Linked DNA regions of Homo sapiens: regions 2 and 3 are each linked to region 1. The links are contacts of gene promoters, found by promoter capture Hi-C in blood cells and fetal thymus (Javierre and others, 2016). All regions are on one chromosome and are shown on one strand. The core of a region is centred on a gene start or on the middle of the fragment in contact, and the rest is flanking DNA. Distances in the headings are between cores, read along the strand shown. Region 1 holds the start of PLPPR5-AS1 (PLPPR5 antisense RNA 1). Region 2 overlaps PALMD (palmdelphin). Region 3 overlaps FRRS1 (ferric chelate reductase 1).

The links. The method cuts DNA at HindIII sites, captures the fragments that hold promoters and counts their contacts. A CHiCAGO score of 5 or more calls a contact.
Region 2: a contact is called between a fragment that was not itself captured here and the fragment with the promoter of PLPPR5-AS1 in region 1, in 1 of 17 cell types (M1 macrophages). The highest score is 6.1, in M1 macrophages.
Region 3: a fragment that was not itself captured here is called in contact with the fragment with the promoter of PLPPR5-AS1 in region 1 in 1 of 17 cell types (endothelial precursors); the score reaches 5.7 in endothelial precursors.

The regions. Positions count from the first base shown.
Region 1 is chr1:99,002,236-99,006,648 of GRCh38, reverse strand. PLPPR5-AS1 (PLPPR5 antisense RNA 1) reads right to left here and starts at 2,373. Exons shown (of 3, transcript NR_033940.1): 1 at 2,004-2,373. PLPPR5 (phospholipid phosphatase related 5) reads left to right here and starts at 1,788. Exons shown (of 6, transcript NM_001037317.2): 1 at 1,788-2,214. The coding sequence starts at 1,978. RefSeq lists an enhancer at 1,956-2,930. The HindIII fragment of the contact is 4,191 bases long and covers 751-4,413 here.
Region 2 is chr1:99,683,386-99,687,871 of GRCh38, reverse strand. It overlaps PALMD (palmdelphin), which reads right to left. Exons shown (of 8, transcript NM_017734.5): 4 at 1,082-1,196; 5 at 909-942; 6 at 683-796. Among named protein-coding and RNA genes, the nearest start is that of PALMD, 40 kb to the right of the region's middle. The HindIII fragment of the contact is 5,437 bases long and covers 316-4,486 here.
Region 3 is chr1:99,728,123-99,732,560 of GRCh38, reverse strand. FRRS1 (ferric chelate reductase 1) reads left to right here. Exons shown (of 17, transcript NM_001361041.2): 8 at 2,813-2,911; 9 at 3,921-4,068. Among named protein-coding and RNA genes, the nearest start is that of FRRS1, 36 kb to the left of the region's middle. The HindIII fragment of the contact is 2,211 bases long and covers 1,006-3,216 here.

The sequences.
Region 1 (4,413 bases), core at 1,124-3,623:
ACAATGAGTCTTAATTGTGAAAATAATGCTCACTTTCATTAGACTGAAGAAATGAGTTGCCCTTAAAAATTAACATCATTCTTCCAAAAATTGGAAAAATGTCTATAAACAAGACTTCAGGGGCATTCCTCAGCGAATGAGATAGTTTGGGGGGATTCCTACTTAGAACCAGAGTACCAGTTTAAATACCCTTACAGTCTCAGAATGATTTTCTTAATGAAGCCTTAAAACATGTATCTTTGTAGTAGTTATATTTTCATAATATAAGCTGCTCATGTCCATTTTGGAACAGCTTACTCCCACTGCCCAAAACTGCTTGTTATACACATTGCTTAGTGTTGTCTATCTTGTAGCTCTAAGTAATTAGTTGTGGAATTATGTTTACGACAATGCGGAGGGTGAGGTATGTATGATACTACATTAAAGAAACTCACACTGCCTTTACTATCCCATCCCAAAACTACCAATCATTTGCCAAATTTCAACAGATTTTTAAGCCAACAGTGTTTTGTTTTGTTTTTCCTGATGATAAAGGCCCACCTCTAAAATTCATCAAGCTACAGCCTATTACAATGAACCAACATTCTAGAACCCTGCTAAGGTGATTCCAGGTTTTAATGAGCAGGGCAGGGCTCTAAAAATATTTTCCTCCTCTTGCTTGTATTCATGCTTCCTCACCTGCTCACTGGAGTAGAGGAGTGTCAGCCTGAGGCTCAAAGAAAGACCCCTTGAGAGTCTGCTGACTAAGCTTGCAGCAGGGACCCACATGGCATGACAGAACGGGCTCCTTGCACATATGCAGTTCCATAGTTAGTTACATACCCACGCATAGGCGTGGATAGCCATGGACGGATGAATTTTTGTATGCATGTGCTGTGAGCCAGCATTGGTCTCCCTCTCCTTTATCCCGACCCCTGAGGAATCCCTGCAGTTCCCTGGAATTCAGGGAATAAAGAACGAGATGAGGCAAATAGTCCTTTTTCCTACCCTGGTGGCTGGGACCGCTCAGTGCCTGGAATCTGCAATGCCTCCTCTCACAAGCAGCTAATAAAGACAGACTGAAAAGATGAGCAAGAGAATGCATGGATCCAGGAAGGGGCCGCTGTACAAGAGATGATGCTTCGGGAGCTACTGGGCTATGATTTCTATTATTATTTGTATATACATATATATATACACAAAGCCCTAGGAAGCTGCAGAGGAGGCAAAGAAACCTCGCTGAGATTTTTCTAACAGCGCCTAGAAACCACCGCCAGGCTCCAGCCCCGGGCTGGGTCAAGGAATTCGAGGGATGCAGGCTGAACGCACCGGTTGAAACTCTGGGCGCCGCATCGGCACTTTGCGCCTTGGTGGGCTTTGCGCTCGGAAGACGCGTCCACGCACCATTTTCCCAGGCGTTGTGCGGGTTTCTTAAACCTCTCAGCTGGTGCCTCGGAAGAGTTTCTGGAAGCTCCATCTCTACTGCCTCCCCTCCCCCCCTTTTGATTTTACCCCCGCCAGGAGCTTCTCCAGCCCCACAGCGTCCGCCCTGTGAGGGGTACAGGTGCCGCTGTCCCGCCGGCTGCCGCCCCGTCCGCCCACGCAGCGCCTCCTCCGGGCTAGCCTGGGGGATTGACCCAGCGCCGCTGCTTCTCGAATGGTCTCGTGCAGGGGCGCAGCGGCCGCTGCCCGTCGCCCGGGACTCCCCGCCCTCCCTCGCGACCCCGCGCCGGGGCGGGCGGCGCTTGCGGCGGGCAGGGGGCGGGCAGGGGAGAGGGGGCTCGTCCGGGGGTAGCCGCCTCCTCTGCAGCCTGCCGGCGCCTCGAAGCCCGGACCTGCCTCCGCCTCTTCCTCCAGCGGCTCCATCCCGCCTCCCGTGCCTCGTCCTCCCGCCGCCTCCGCCGCCGCGCCCCCGGTGGCTGCCTCGGCGGACCGGGGAGGGGGCCCACCGCGTCGACCGCCCGCTCGGCTCGGCTCGGCCCGGCCCGGGAGGCGTGCATGCCCCTGCTGCCCGCGGCGCTCACCAGCAGCATGCTCTATTTCCAGATGGTGATCATGGCAGGGACGGTGATGCTGGCGTACTACTTCGAGTATACGGACACGTTCACCGTGAACGTGCAGGGCTTCTTCTGCCACGACAGCGCCTACCGCAAACCCTACCCGGGCCCGGAGGACAGCAGCGCCGTGCCCCCCGTGCTCCTCTACTCGCTGGCCGCCGGGGTCCCCGTGCTCGTGGTAAGCCCGGGGGCGCTCGCCCTCGTCGCCGAGTCCCTGATCTCGCCCCTCGCCTTCGGGGTTGAGGCCCCTCTAAGGGTTGGGGCGCAGTAGGTTTTGCCTTCTAAGTTCCTCCAAGTTATGGGCAGCCCCTTCCCCAGAGGACATTCTAGGGCGCGTGAGGGTGGGTGCGAAGGAAGCCCCCAGCTCTTCCCACACGTCACCCCCCCACACCCCGCGGTGGCTTCAGCGTTGGGTGACTGGGCGGGGATGGAAGGGAAGAGGGGCCGTAGGTGGTGAGGAGTGGGGATCCGGGTTGCAAAGGAGGTGAGCTTTGGGGGTGAACCTTGATTCCATCCACTCTGTGGCCTTGACTCGCTCACTGCCTCCTCTTCGATTGTGCCTGGAAGAAGAGCAGCGGCGGGCGGGCCGGCGAGGAGAGAGGGGATCAATTGCTGGGGTGTGAAAGGGACTCCCACTTCCCGAGTCGGGGCACGTATTTCTATTTCGCCACCTCCCTCCTTTTCAGGTGAAAGTGCCAATGGGACTAAGCTGACCAGGGAACAAATATCTGAAAAAAGAATTTGAGAATTTCTAAATGAAGAGGCCTCAGCACCAGTGCTTTGCTGAAAAGCAGGAGCTGTACCTCAATTACAAGAGCACTTCAGATTTATTTAAAGGCTGCTCCGCTCCCTGGGCAATTTAAGTCCTTTTCTCTTAGAACCTCACAGAGCATGCCTTTTGGATTTATTGAGTGTATGTGTGTGTGAGAGAAAGAATGACTATACAGATACACTCACGTGTATACACACACCTCACATATATACATATGAAATTATTGGGGATAAATTACACATAATAATATTAATTTTATTATAGTAATTTACATATGTGAATATGCTACATATTTATTCTTAGGAGAATTGTTGGTGTTTCTTTAGAAAACCTGATATTTTATGGTTCCTTTAATATTGACAAAGTATTGGAGGTTCCCTTCCTGTGATGCGCGCTCTCTCTCTCCCTCAACAGATAACAAACGGGAAATAAGAAAATGAAGGGGAAAGGAAGAATGAAGTTTTATTTTCAGTAGCTAAATGTGTAAATTGAATGTTAAGAATGTCTGTTGAATCCATTAAGTTTGGATGTTCATCTTTTTTTTTAATTTTAGGAGCAATGACTTACTAATTTGTAAAATAATGAAAAGTTCCTAACACATAAGATAGAAATCAGTGAACAAATCAAGTAATTTCTTGATAACCTTAAAGTAACTTTATCACATGTCCTGTGATAGTTGACTTCAAATTGCCTCTGTCATAATGGTTTGAAATGTGTTAGACCTTGCCCCAGATAATGTTTTACATATATATATATATATATATATATATATATATATATATATGTAAAATAAGTTGCTAAAATGTGTTAGAAGCCCCAAATCCAGCCTTCATGTTTGTGTTCTCTTTTCTCCATTTGACAAGCTGGCAGAGAAAAAAAAAAAGGTCGATTTTTGGGGGCCCTTTTTACTTTCTGGAGATCGGGGTTTCCCATGTACAGTTTTCCAGGAGACTAAATAGCTCAGATATTTTTCAAGGATTGTTTTAAAGAAAAAGGAAGAGCCTGTCACTTTCAGCTCATTGGTTTGGTCATAGCTATAATCAATAATGTCTGTAACTCATCCTTTAATTCCCATTCTATGTCTTATTTAAATAAGATAGCACTTTTCAGTCCTAACCATCCAATCATGGTGGCAGGTGCTAGTTAGAGACGAGAGCACACTCACCCAATGATTTGGATGATTCTCCACTTAGGAGGAATGTAGGACGGAGAAAAAGAATGAATTAGTCACTATTTAGTGCCTACTCTATTTTGGGTACCGAATAGTCATAGTCACGTATATTTCTCAGAGCAGCTCTTTCAGGAGATATTATCTCCAATTAATATTTGAAGAAAGTGAGGTTCAGATAATAAGGAATATCTGAAAACAAAAAAAAAGGTGGGTATGGCATTTGTATGCCTATAGGACGGATGCCTGAATGCCATGCGACTTACATTGCTTCCAAAGAGCTTGTTCTCTGAAAGAAGGTGGAAGCTGGCTGGTCAGGCAGGCATTGAGAATATAAGTGGATAGATTTTTCTGAAGTCAGAATCCAACTTGATTTCGATGTTTTGGCTTTTAGTTCTTTTAGGTACAAGAGAATGGGTTTGGGAATCAGTTTAGAA
Region 2 (4,486 bases), core at 1,785-4,284, 680 kb before region 1:
AAACTGCAACACCCCTCATCTGCACTCTCCCTGTCCAGCTTCTCTGCTTTATTCTCTGTATTGCACTCCCTACCATGATATATTTAGTGAATACCTACTATGTGCCTAACTGAACCTGGCACACAGTATCTATTCTCTAAATATTTGTTGAATGAATAAATGACTACCATCTGCAAATAAAGAGTAGCTTTTCCTTCCACTGTAAAATTCAAAGTTTTCCTCTCTGCTCTAATGCAAACCTTCATTTTTCTAGAAGCTTTGAAGCATCAGTTTTATGTAACTCAATTTCCCATGGAGGTAAATAAGGCCTAAGCTTCCCAAAGGAATATTTTCATTTTCAAAAAAGATCTTTGTAACCCCCAAAGAGGTTCTATTGGATGGAATATGTCAGGAGAAATATTTTTGACCAGGGAATCTATGCTTTTAAGAGCTTCTTGTCTCCTTTGGGTCTCTATCTTCCTTATCCCTGTCTGGTTTGTTAGGGAATAAAATGCATGGAATAAATGCTATTATTATACCCTCATTATCCTCACCTATGCGGTGACTCACATAACTCACAGAACTTTGTAAAGTGAACCATTGCTTAACCTGGAAGAATAATATGTCATAGCAAGTTGTGAATATTTGACACTGTAAAATCTGAAATTAAGAACATGCCCTTCAACACAGATTTCTCATATACCTTTCCTATTTTGTTCATCATCTTCTTTTTCTTCATTTATCTCCTTCCTTAACCTAGAAGGTATGTAGGACTTTGGAAGGTCAGGGATATTAGCATAGATGTCCTCAATTGACTCTGTAAAATTAATATGAATTCAAAATACATTTAGAATATATTTACAATGGGAACAATTTCAAATTACCAAAAAAACTTAGTTTAACATAAAATAAGTTATTCAAAAACATACCTTCTGCTCTTTCTTCTCTTTCCACTTTCACAGACTGTAAGAAAAAAGAATTCTCCATGATTAATACAGTTTAAAAAATAGAATCTAAATGTGGATATGCTTTGAAAAATTATATAGTATTTGTGGATTCATTTTGAGAGAGAATTACAGTTTTAAAATTGGTTAATGCTCACTCTTATAATGTCTTCTGTTGTCCGCTCAATTGACTTTAGTTTCTTTAAAATGGCCTCTTCCTTCGTTGAGATTTGCAGTTCAGCTTTTTCAAGATCTTGGATCTCTTTCTCAAGCCTGACAACAAAAAGGTATACTTTTTATTGCTTAACACAGTACAAATGCGGAGTTCTCAAATATGTCTTCCCCATATATAAAGTTTCCTTGGAATATGCATGTAAGTAGCCAGACACTTTCTAAGAATATAATGTCACACTTAGCATCACACTAAGCATGATACTTAATATATGGAAGATACCTAATGCCCGACTTTGAACGATTTTCAAGTTTTCTTTTTTTGACAAAGGAATATATTAGGTAAAGCATTTGACCTTTGCTCCATGTTCTTCATTGCAATTACTAATGTTATTTCCAAATAAAAGAGATTTTTAAAATACAGAGACATAAGTTTAAAGTTGTACCGAAAGGAATGGTACATTTGTAGTTATTATGTAGTTCATCAGGTTTTCATATCCAAGTCATCATATAAATTATTTGAAGAAAACATTATAATTATTAAACTGATTTAATAATCATAGTCATTTAGTACTTAAAATTCTTGCATATTCTACCATTGAAAATGACACTTTGATTTAATTTCAGTTTCCTAAGAGTTGGGCCATATTATAGTGAGGAGGGTGAAGAGATGCAGAAATGGACCAAATATAGTACAGTAGCTTCAACTGCTGCTGTTTATAGAGGCTACATTTTCTGGGCGGGGGGTAGGGCACACATGGCCTGACACAGCATAAGGAACTTACAGCAACAAAGAGACAGACATTTGAAACTAGACTGTTGCAAGCATTCTGAGCTGGTATCTTGGCCAGTGTACAGCTGCGTGTCAGATTCAAATGAACTCCAGGGGGCAGCATCGTGACCTCTCCTCTATAAAAACATAGAGACACTGGCAATCACGCAGAAGGCTGGCCCTTGGCAGCCACGTAACACACATGGTTTCTCAGCCAAATACACTAAGGCTCTAAAGTCAGCTGCCTCAGAGGATGGCTGATTAGATTCAGCAGCTGGTCCAGGAGGTGACAGCTGTGGATATTCGTGTCAGCTAAGAGAACTGTCAGTTTTCTTGGCTTCCTTCTTGAAGATGGTCATGGGCCTGGCAGCTCAAAAATGCTGCACTATTGTCACACCAGTAAAAGCCCAAGATGTGGTCAGCTTGACAGCTCTCTTGCTCATTGCTTCAGTTTCAAAGTTCTTACTTTGCTGCTGCCTCTGGCCATTGGTAGATTGCCGTTTATAACTGAGGAGGTTTTCTTGTATGCCACAGACCTCTAAGTGAAATGGAGTAGCCCCTGGTTTCTTAGAAGTGACTGAACTGTGACTGCCATTTTATTAAAATTCCTCCACATCCATGGCAGCACTTTTACCCTTCAGCAGAGCTGTGGGGATATATGTTGGTCCAATTTGGTAAAGGGGAAAGCTCTGCACTAAAAGTGATAAATCTGGATTCAATTCTGTCTCTGCTACTCATTTCTTGTGAAAGCCAGTTCCCCTAACCTCTCTGAAACTCTGTTTTGTAATGTGTGTAATGAGCATAATTACAGATTACGCTCATTACCATATACAGACAGATATGTGGTGACACTAAGAGATGATGTATATGAAAGTACATTGAATATGGTTGATATCAGATGTAAATATGTTATGATATAATTTTTAAAAGTTTTCTGCAACATACTGTATGTCTTTCTTTTTTCATCCCCTGTCCCACAGGGTGCTTACCTAATTTGCCTGTTAGAGACAGTCTACAAAGGAAAGCCTTTTGGTAGAAAACAAGAAGGTTCAAATCATTGCTTCAAGCAGCTCTTGCACATCAGGGCCTAGCTGTGGAATCAGGTGGACCTGGGTTTGAAACCTGGTTCATCTGCCAGCTTCCTGTGTGACCTTAGACAAGTCACCTGACCTCACTAAGACTCAGTGTTGGGCTGAGAGAAGTGGCTCATGCCTATAATCCAGCACTTTGGGAAGCTGAGGCAGGAAGATTGCTTGAGCCTAGGAGTTAGAGATGAGCCTGGACAACATAGTGAGACCTCAGTCTCTACAAATATTAAAAAAAATTAGCTGAGCATACACCTGTGGTCTCAGCTACATGGGAGGCTGAGGTGGGAGGATTGTTTGAGCCCGAGTGGTCGAGCTTGCAGTGAGCCATGATCATACCATTGCACTCCAGCCTGGGCAACAGAGTGAGATCTGGGCTAACAAACAAACAAACAAACAATAAAACTCATTGTCTTTATTCATTCATTCTTTTAAAAATATTTACTTAGCATCTACTTTGAACCAGGCACTCTTCTATGTGCTGGGGATCTTACAGTGACCAAAACAAAGTCCCTGAGCTCAAGGAGTTTATGTTCTAGTGGGAGACAATACAGGGGCTGGCAACCTTTTTCTATAAGGGGCCGGATGCCAAATATTTTAGGTTTTGCAGTCCACATATGCTTTCTGTTTCTTATTCATCTTTTTTCCCCTTTTTCTTTTACAGCCTTTTAATAATATAAAAACCATTTTTAGCTTGTGTCTGTACAAAATCAGGCCAGGGCTAGATTTGGTCCTGGGCCATAGTTTGTCAATCCCTGCATTAATAAATGTGTAATACAAATATGTATATATTGCAGATGTATGTACATACATATATATACACATAAACACATTTATTTATGAAGAAAAAATATTTTTGATGAGAAAAGCAGGATAGGGGCTGTAAACAGCAAGATAAAGAATATAGAGAAAGCCTGAGGAGGGGGCACTATTTCACACAGTGTGGTGAGGGAAGTTTCTCTGATAAAGTGTCATTTGAGCAGAGACATGAAGGAAGTGAGAGCGGGAAACATGAGGGTTTCAAAGGGAGTGTGCTCCAGAGAGATGGAAGAGTAACTATAGAGAGCGAAGGAAGAGCCAAGAGAGTAGAAAGGTGAAATGAAGTCAGAGAGGAGGCAGATGACCAGATAGGCAGGGCCTTGTGCATGGAAGGGCTTTGGGGAAGCCACTGGAATTTTGAACAGAGAGGAAACATGCTATGACTTGAAATGTAAACAGTTACACTGGCTGCTGTGTGGAAAATAGACTGGATGGGGCAAACATGGAGGTCAATTGTGCTAAAAATCTAGATGAAGATGGTGTAATCCAGGTTGGTTGCCAGTAGAAGGGTGAGAAGTGGTTGGATTCTAGAAATATTTGACAGAAAGAGCTGTCAGAATTTGTTGATGATTACATGCAGGGGATAAGAGAAAGGGAGATGTCAAGGTGATTCCACTGTTTGTGACCTGAATAATTGGAAACATGCAATACAATTGGCTGAAGAAATCTGGGAGAGAGAAGAAAGGGGATTTGTGGGGGATGTGTTAAATTTGAGA
Region 3 (4,438 bases), core at 862-3,361, 730 kb before region 1:
TATGTTTTATCTTCTAAGGTCTGCTTAATTACTGTCTTTTCTGATAAGCCATTTTCAATTCTCTGGCCATACATAATTTGTCTTTTCATGTCACTTTACCTATCTGTCTGGCTCAATAAAATATAGCTTTAGGTTATAAGAGCCATATTCTTATAATAAAGTCATTTTTGTTTCTCCCACAGTGTCCAGCTTAATGTTCTCTCATAGGATGCTCTCTAAATGCTTGACTTGAGAGGGGCAAACTGGGGAGAGAGCTTCAGTACAACCCAGGGATTTGGTGGAAGTTCTTATAGGGTGTACTTTTATGCTTTCAAACTTGAGGTTTCTAGAACTGCCTGGAGCCTGAGGTTGGAGTAGCACGTTCACTTACTCTTCATTTGGAATAGTGAGAACTGAGAGTTACCTGCTGTCTATCCCCATCATCTTCTCTAATATTTGGGAGGTCTACTTGTATTGATTTTATTTGACTTCTCATCCTCAGTTTGCCTCAAATCAACCATTATTTGTATTAAAATTTTTTGTGTAACAAAAGAATTTCTATGTCTCATTCATGATGGATATTATAGAAAACATGCATTGTTTAAATCAGGGTTCAGGCCCAGCATGGTGGCTTACACCTGTAGTCTCATCACTTTGGGTGGCTGAGGCAGGAGGATTGCTTAAGCCCAAGATTTCAAGACCAGCCTGGGCAACAGGGCGAGAATCCATCTCTACTTTTTTAAAAAATAAAAAATAAATCGGGGTTCAAAAAACGTTTTCTGTAAGGACCAGGTAGTAACTATTTTAGAGTTCGTGGGCAATATGGTCTCTGTTGTAGCTACTAAACTCTGTTGTAGTATAAAAGCAGCCATAGATGATATGTACATGAATAAATGTGGCTGTGTTCCAATGAAACATGGACATTGAATTTCAGTTTGATTTATTTTCATTTGTCATGAAACATTCTTTTCACCACCTAAGTATGTAGAAGTCATTCTTAAACTATGAGCTATATAGAAACAAGCTTTAGGTTGAATTTGATTTGCTGGCCATGGTTTGTTGACTCCTGGTTTAAGTCATGATTGCTCCAAATTTCTTATCTGGAATTGGGCTAATTCTGATTTTACTGTAATATGTGTAACAGTACATAATTACTTTGCTAAGAGTACATCCTTGAGAGTTTTTAAAAGTGGAACATTTAAAAATAAAGTTGAATCTGAAACTATAGAAGTATGTTAGAATCTAATATTGGAATTTATAGCAAGATTTGTTATAACTGGGTAGTCTTGGACCTTGTTTAAGGAATTGGGTGACTAAAGCACATAAAGAACCTTGTTAGATAGTTTATGGAGAAACCAAGTGAAAGACCAAACCATGGATAATAACTTAAAATCAAGATTATTCCTTTGTGCCATTGTTTAAATGTACTTTGAAGTTACAGTCTGCTTCTTTTTTGGTATTCTTTTTCATTCTTTTTCCCCCTATTAATTGACAGTCTGCTTTTTGATTATCACTTTATTTTATTCTGTTTTATTTCTCTTTTTTGGAGGCAAGGTCTCCCTCAGTTGCCCAGGCTGGTGTGCAGTGGCACGATCATGCCACACTGCAGACTTGACCTCCTGGGCTCAAGTGATTCTCCTGCCTTAGCCTTCTGAGTAGCTGGGACCACAGGCATGCATCACCATGCTTGGCTGATTTTTTTTTTTTTTTTTTTTGAGACTGAGTTTCGCTCTGTTGCCCAGGCTGGAGTGCAGTGGCGCGATCTCGGCTCACTGCCAGCTCCACCTCCCGGGTTCACGCCATTCTCCTGCCTCAGCCTCCTGAGTAGCTGGGACTACAGGCGCCCACTACCATGCCCAGCTAATTTTTTGTATTTTTAGTAGAGACGGGGTTTCACCATGTTAGCCAGGATGGTCTGGATCTCCTGACCTCGTGATCTGCCCGCCTTGGCCTCCCAAAGTGCTGGGACTACAGGCGTGAGCCACCTCGCCCGGCCCGCTTGGCTGATTTTTAAAAAATTTTTTTTAGGATGAAGTCTCACCATATTGCCCAGGCTGATCTCAAACTCCTGGCTTCAAGCAATCCTCCTGCCTTGGCCTCCCAAAGTGCTAGAATTATGGGTGTGAGTCACTGTGTCTGGCTTGATTATCACTTTAAAGAATAAGATCTAACTTTCAGAGTTAAGGATCTTTGGAGACTAAAGGATAGATAAGAGGTAGATTGTTTGACTAATTCCTCCTTGAGTGCAGGTATTTTTGCCTCAGTTATATAACATTAAATCTATTGAATATGTACACTATGTAGCAATATTTCTTTACAGTGTCTTCCATCTTAGAAGTTACCAAAAAATATCCAGTACAATGCAGTGTATTTGGTCATTAAAATATGTAGGATATAGATATTTATTAATAAATAAATATCTGGAGTATTGTTTATGGTAAGTTAATTGAAAAAAGGTAACAGAACTCTATATTTTCCCATTTGGGAAGGAAAAAATAGGTATAATACAAATAGGTTTGGATGAATATACATGAAAATATTAAAGTGGTGTTCGATTAGTGATGGGTTTATGAACATATAAACATGTTATATATCTATCTTAATCTATTATTTTACACTGAAATTCTAGTGCTTTTGTATTATAACAAAATTATTTGCTATTCGCAAATCAGATAGCCAGTTCTCTAGAATTCATAGCATCATTCATGATTCAGTAAATTATGTTTTCAAAGCATCACATAATATTTGGTTTCCTGATGTACTTTTTTAAAAAGAGAAAATAAAATGCTGAAATTCCTTTGAGCTTTTTTTCTCATTTGCAATTGTTTTTCAGGGTGATGATGATGCTTATCTGTGTATTCATGAAGATCAGACTGTGTACATCCAGCCTTCCCATTTAACGGGGCGAAGTCACCCTGTAATGGACTCCAGGGTAGGTGTGAAAATTCTGAGAACCTCCACCTGGAGACCCGCTTTCCGGCTGTGTGGCTATCACTGGCGTGGCTGTGCTGCTAGATTGCCTCCAACCCCCACAGTTCCACCTAGCCTGAGCAGGGGCCTGCCAGCAGGGCTCCTCTCATAATGATTTCTGAGAAACTTTTCTACACTTCAGAAGTTTCTGTTGTAGGAAAAGATGAATTCTTGCTTGTGTCACTTACATCCTTTTGGTTGTATCCTACAAAAAAGTACTTTATGGTTTATTAAGATGGTCAGGGCATCAGCTTCCTTTCAAAAGCTTACAGACGGGTTTCTAAGACAGGATGACATTAGTGACAAAATTTCTTGACTAGTGAGAAAGAGGAGCACATTTGATGAAGGCTGGAGATGCCTTGGACAGTTGTCTTAAGTGCCCTTTGTTGGCATGTGTGTCAAAGGTGGGCTATTTCTGGTAGAGAAGTGTCTTTTTTGCAGGACAGTTGACAAGCAAATGAGCTCTGAAAGAGCAGTAGCTATCACTTAATGACAGCAAATGAGCTCTGACGGAGCAGTAGCTATTACTTAATGACATAACTGTGCACAGCCTTCCCATGGGATTGACTCCCAAGGCTGGCTTGGAACTTCTCCCCAGTTGCATGTTGCATTTTGGCCACTAGGGTAGTACTTGTTAATTGTTTATTTCAATGTTTTTGATTGTATACTAGTGGCCAGATGGAGTTAGTACATCTGTTAAAATTTCTAACCTAGGTAGAGGAATTGTGGAGTTCTGGCTCAAAGTAAAAATAATATTTTTTCTTTTTGCCAAGTGGGATAAAGACAAATAAACTGGGAGAAAATGTTTCTTGTTCTCTTCAAAGAGGAAGTGGAAAAACAATGACACTGCAGACAAAGCATGGACATACGATCTTAGAGAAAGGAAACTGAACAGGGCAGGATTTTGATCATATCTTATTTTTAGCAAATCTTTGGAAAGTGCTGAGAAGACCCATTGTGTGTGTTTGTAGGATACCCTTGAGGATATGGCTTGGAGGTTGGCGGACGGTGTTATGCAGTGTTCTTTCAGAAGAAACATTACCCTTCCTGGAGTTAAGAATAGATTTGATCTAAACACAAGCTATTACATATTTCTAGCAGATGGTGCAGCTAATGATGGTAAGTATATTGTTAAGCTGTCTTTTCAAGTGTCTTTTTCTCTCTTCTTCCCTCTCTTTCCCCCATTTTTGGAAAAACTACTGTAATTGCCCGTTTTTAAGGCACACGCTTTCCTATAAATGTCAAATTTTGCCAGAAACTGGATAAAGGTAGAAAAATTTTGCTGGAAACTAGATAGAGGTAGAGTGTCCCTTGTGTTATAAGGCAACACGGCTCAAGACAAAAATGGCTTCTGATTAGTAAAATGCATGTGACCAGAAGAACTATAAATACCTAATAAGAAGCCACGTATTTGGGCTTCCCTGAGTGTAGTGATAGTAGATTAACATTGCAGGGGACCTAGAAGCAGTGACTTTGAGGTTGTTGCAAG